Regions from separate parts of the Homo sapiens genome. Here region 1 is linked to region 2. The links are contacts of gene promoters, found by promoter capture Hi-C in blood cells and fetal thymus (Javierre and others, 2016). All regions are on one chromosome and are shown on one strand. The core of a region is centred on a gene start or on the middle of the fragment in contact, and the rest is flanking DNA. Distances in the headings are between cores, read along the strand shown.

Region 1 (2,700 bases), core at 80-2,579, 260 kb after region 2:
TGTGTGTGCATGCTTGCAGCCCAGTGGCTGTCTCAGGGGACATGTCTTCAAGTGTGTGGCTCCCTGTCTCACCTGGGGCAGGTATATCTGGGAGGGTGCAGAGTTCTCTGTTTGCACACAGAGGAAGTGGTTTTCTGCCTGAGTCCCCCCACCCTTACTGCCAGCGTCCAACCTCACACCAGAGAAAAGCCAGAGTTTCATGTGCGGAGGGACGGCGTACATTCCAACAAGGTCCGTCCTTCCCACCTCAGGCCTTCCATCGCCTCCCTCGACTCCCACCTGGAGCCTGGAGGCAGCTGGAAGAACCCACCTCTCACCCCAGCAAGGTCTGTGGCGTTAAGGTCACACTGGCACCAACTAAGAACTAAGACCTTCTCTGAGGCATGAAGGCTGTTGCTTAGCTTTGAAAACAGTAAATGTGAATGAAAGGGAACCTTGAGAAAGACCCGTTCCTAGGTGAAGTGAGAAGCAGGCTAGACTGGCCGTCCCGGGCCATACCCACCCTGTCTCCAAGGGGTCTCTGCCCAGGAGAAATCAAAGTGGGGTTCTCACAGCCCCTGGGGCAGGGGCAGGGAAATTTGGTCAGAAACAATGCGGAGCCCCCAGGGCTTTTGTCAAATCTCCATCCATGGGTTTTGTTTTCTCCCCAGTTCTGAATCTGGGAGGCCGAGTGGCTGCCCAGCGAGGTTGGCTCTGGGCTGAGGACAGCACTGCCTGGGCCTCCTTCCCTGGGTGGTTGTTCAACACCGGGCAAGTCCCTGCACCTGTCCAGCCTCAGCCCACTGTCTCAAAAGTGGGGCCATTGGCATTCTGGACTGTCAAGAAGCTTGAGAAACTGGGCCCTAGGAGGATGCTGCAAGATGCCCAGATGTCCTCTTCAACTCGAAACGTTGCCATCTGCCTTGCTGGCTCACACCCAGCCCCTACCTGAGAACGCAGCTGTGGGCACTGTCGCCCAGGAGGAGGCCTGGCTGCTGAGACGCTCCCTTCCTACAGCTGCCGGTGGCCAGAACCCTCCACCTGTGCTCCAGACCAGGCTGGCACTGAGACGCCCACCCCAGCCATGGTCATTTAGAAATAAGTAGGTGTCCACTATATGAAATCGAAATAGGGATCATTCCTGTGCCTGCCAATAAAACACCAATCTCCTTGAGAGAAGCAGCCTTGAAACTTATCAGTCATTCACAACTTAGCATGATCAGATTGATGAGCTATGATCAGATTGATTGATTAGCTATGATCGGTTTGATGTGCTCTGATTGGGTTCACTGATGAGCTATGGTTAGATTCATTGATGAGTTATGACCAGATTGATTGATGAGCTATGATCAGACTGATGTTCTGTGATCAGGTTCATTGATGAGCTATGGTTGGATTCATTGACGAGCTATGACCAGATTGATTGACTAGCTATGATCGGTTTGATGTGCTCTGATTGGGTTCATTGATGAGCTATGGTTGGATTCACAGATTAGCTATGGCCGGATTGATTGATGAGCTATGGTCCGATCGATGAGTTGCTTTCAGGAAACCAGGGATAAGGAGCAGGCAGACGCCATCCCTGTACCAGGGGGTGCAGGGTGCTCAGGGAGACTGGAGCCCCAGTCTGCCTGGAGCTGGCATGAGGCCAAGGTGGGCGCCCGCAGCCCTGGATGTGGAGGGGTGTTCTAGAAGGAGTGCTGGCCTGCAGGAAAGGCCTTGGGCTGCAGTCAGGTCAGCCATGAACCCTTCAGTCAAACATGTGACCTGAACTGAGAACCCCAGGTCCAGCCTCTAGGTATGGGACGCCAGCTCTCTCCTTACCACCGAAGCAGCTTTGGGCTTGCACATGAAAAGCTTCCGAACCTTGACTCCCTTCACAGGCCTGAGCAGTGAGTTCCCAGAATGTTCTAGAAGAGGCATGTGCTCAGGGAGGCCATGCTTCAGTGTGCAGACGTTTCCCCAGAGAGGTCAGCAGGTGCCGGGCACCAGCCCTTCCCCAGACACAGGCTGGCCCTGCCAGCTGGCTTAGCAGGGCGCTGCCTGTGTGTGGAGTGGGGGCTCTGGGCTCCTTGCTTGGCCCCCACAGGTCCTCGACCCAGAGACCTTGTCCCCCCACTGTCGGGCTTAGGACAGGCCAGGGTCACCCTCAGCAGAACCTGGGGCCAGCGCCGCAGGGCCCCCTGGTTTGGAAAGCCTGTTCCTCAGCTCTGTCCCAGCGGGCACTTAGCTGAGGATACCCCTGATGCTGCTCCATGCACACCTCTCACCACGATTCAATCCACCTGAGGATGGTCACCTTCTCAGGGAAATGGGGAAAGACTTATTGCCAAGGTCACTGAAGCCTTCCTGGTCTTGGTGTCTGGAAAAAACTCGCCAAGAGAGCAGGCATCTCCCGAGACCCAGGAATCAGCATGGCCACCAGAGCTGGTCACTGCCACTCCGAAGCTCCTCAGGCAGCTTCCTTTCTCCCTAGGGAGGAGACACTGTTGTCCGTCTGAAGCCTGGCGAACGTGGGACACAGGAGGCAGCCGTGGCCGGAGGGGCACGAGGGTGGTGGGCAGCCAGCGCTAGCCCAAGCTCCCGGGGTCACTCCAAGGAGTAGTGAGGGCTCCCCTGCAGGTGCAGTGAGAGGCGTGGTAGTATTAGGGCGGTTAGAGGAGGGGCGTCTCCCTTCCCTTCCTTCTGAGTTTTCTTTGACACTGTCATCTTTCAGTGCAG
Region 2 (2,700 bases), core at 14-2,513:
CGTGTCAACAAGACACATCTACACCACACATCAACAACGAGTGTACCGCGCGTGTCTACACCACCCATCTATCCCATGCATCTACACGGCACATCCATATGCGTCTGTACCTCGTGTCTACACCACATGTCTGTACCACGTGTCTAGACTGCCCATCTACAACATGTGTCTACACCACCATCGGATTAATGCCTGCTGGTGGGTCAGCAGGGCAGGCAGGACACACAGAGGGGGCCACCAGCAGGAGCTGAGGGGCTCCAGGAAGGGAGTGACCCCGGGAGGCGTCCTCTGGGAGAACTCTGGGGGGCCAAGCTGGGCTGGAGCATGATTGTGGATATGACAGGAGAGGTAGAATAAACCTCACATTCTCCAAGGCCACCTCCAACCTCCTTAGGAAAAAAGTGAAGCTGGTTCCCAGGTTGGATCCCCTCCCACTTTCTCCCCAAGCGGAAGACAAAGCGGGGGTCTGAGTGCCGGGCGTGCACTGTTGTGGGTGCCCTTGGCCTGGCCCGGTGCCTCCTTCCTGGTCATGCTCAGGCCTTGACCTTTAATGGCCTGGTCACCTCTGAGCATTGCTCTGTGGTTGTGGCCTGACTGTGTGGCAGCTCATAGACACAGAGAGGTGTCACAGGCTGCAATCCAGGCTACCCATGTGAAACCAGCAGGCCATATCTTCAGGGCTGTTGGGTTCCCAACTCTATGGCTGCTGGACTTTGTTGTGTGCTGGCACTTCAGAGTCTGCAGAGAGGAATGAGGGGTGCTGGCCTCAAGCCAGAGCAGAGATGTATTCCTGGACAAAGGGCCAGCAGCCCAGAGGGCTTTGAATAGGGTCTACCCAGTGGGACAGACAGCCAGGACTAATGGGATGGAGGGAGGAGAAATCCCTGAGAGCTTCCTGGGGGAATCACTATTCAAAAGCACATTCTAAGTGCCTGCTGGGACAGAACTGCTTACAACACCCCTCCGACCTGGTGCTTGGTTTTCCCCCTTAGCAAAGGGAAGTGTTGTCACCCCAGAAGTTGCAGCTCAGGGGCCAGAGAAGCTGGTTTTCTAGGGTGCACGCAGGCTGGGCTGCTTCTCTCCACTCTAAAGCTAAGTCTCTGCCTCAGCCCACAGGCTTGTCCAGCACCGCCCTAGGATGCACTTGTCTCTCTCTCTCTCTCTCACCTCACCCTGTGGGGGATGGGGGACTCAGAGCCCCACCCCCAGGGCCTCTGAGGCTCAGGACAATCGTTGCCTTGGCTAGATTGTTACCTAGGAGACAACCCCCTGGCCCCCTGGAAGAGGCCTCAGCAGGCCCAGGCCACCTGGAGGGAGAGCAGACCTGCGGCTGAGGATGCAGGGCTCCCGGGCACGGTGCTAGCCCTGCCTTGAGACACCCCGAGAGCTGTGGGAAGAGCTGTGGGATCCCCTATTGCATCACAAAGCGGCCCTGGAGGGCTGGTCTTTATTTTGATGAGGCTGAGAAGGGAAGGCTGCGGGCATGTTTAATCCGCACGCTTTAGACTCCCCGGCTGTGATTTTTGACAATGGCTCGGGGTTCTGCAAAGCGGGCCTGTCTGGGGAGTTTGGACCCCGGCACATGGTCAGCTCCATCGTGGGGCACCTGAAATTCCAGGCTCCCTCAGCAGAGGCCAACCAGAAGAAGTACTTTGTGGGGGAGGAGGCCCTGTACAAGCAGGAGGCCCTGCAGCTGCACTCCCCTTTCGAGCGTGGCCTGATCACAGGGTGGGATGACGTGGAGAGACTCTGGAAGCACCTCTTTGAGTGGGAGCTAGGCGTGAAACCCAGCGACCAGCCCCTGCTTGCAACGGAGCCCTCCCTGAACCCCAGGGAGAACCGTGAGAAGATGGCAGAAGTCATGTTCGAGAACTTCGGCGTGCCCGCTTTCTACCTGTCGGACCAGGCGGTGCTGGCTCTCTACGCCTCTGCCTGTGTCACGGGCCTGGTGGTGGACAGCGGGGATGCGGTCACCTGCACTGTCCCCATCTTTGAGGGTTACTCCCTGCCCCACGCAGTCACCAAGCTCCACGTGGCGGGCAGGGACATCACGGAGCTCCTCATGCAGCTGCTCCTGGCCAGCGGCCACACCTTCCCCTGCCAGCTGGACAAGGGTCTCGTGGACGACATCAAAAAGAAGCTGTGCTACGTGGCCTTGGAGCCCGAGAAGGAGCTTTCCCGGAGGCCGGAGGAGGTCCTGAGGGAGTACAAGCTGCCCGACGGGAACATCATCAGCCTCGGGGACCCGCTGCACCAGGCGCCCGAGGCCCTGTTCGTGCCCCAGCAGCTGGGCAGCCAGAGCCCCGGGCTCTCGAATATGGTCTCCAGCAGCATCACCAAGTGTGATACCGACATCCAGAAGATCCTCTTTGGGGAGATTGTGCTGTCGGGGGGCACTACCCTGTTCCACGGGCTGGATGACCGGCTTCTCAAGGAGCTGGAGCAGCTGGCCTCCAAGGACACCCCCATCAAGATCACGGCTCCCCCCGACCGGTGGTTCTCCACCTGGATTGGAGCCTCCATCGTCACCTCTCTGAGTAGCTTCAAGCAGATGTGGGTCACCGCCGCAGACTTCAAGGAGTTTGGGACCTCCGTGGTGCAGAGAAGATGCTTCTGAAGGCCGCTTCTCGTTGGGTACCGTGGGGGGTGAACCCTAGCCCCAGCTTTGGGAGGATGTTCAATAAAGGACCAATGCCGGAA

The links. Contacts are between HindIII fragments. The CHiCAGO score rates a contact against its expected background, and 5 or more counts as called.
Region 1: a contact is called between a fragment that was not itself captured here and the fragment with the promoter of ACTRT2 in region 2, in 4 of 17 cell types (megakaryocytes, fetal thymus, M0 macrophages and 1 more). The highest score is 11.3, in megakaryocytes.

What each region holds. Positions count from the first base shown.
Region 1 is chr1:3,280,300-3,282,999 of GRCh38, forward strand. All of the region lies in intron 3 of PRDM16 (PR/SET domain 16), which reads left to right. LOC124903828 (collagen alpha-5(IV) chain-like) reads left to right here. Exons shown (of 2, transcript XM_047436627.1): 1 at 1-2,700. Among named protein-coding and RNA genes, the nearest start is that of MIR4251, 150 kb to the left of the region's middle. The HindIII fragment of the contact is 1,010 bases long and covers 825-1,834 here.
Region 2 is chr1:3,020,204-3,022,903 of GRCh38, forward strand. It overlaps ACTRT2 (actin related protein T2), which reads left to right and starts at 1,264. Exons shown (of 1, transcript NM_080431.5): 1 at 1,264-2,700. The coding sequence starts at 1,484. The coding sequence ends at 2,617. The HindIII fragment of the contact is 17,158 bases long and covers 1-2,700 here.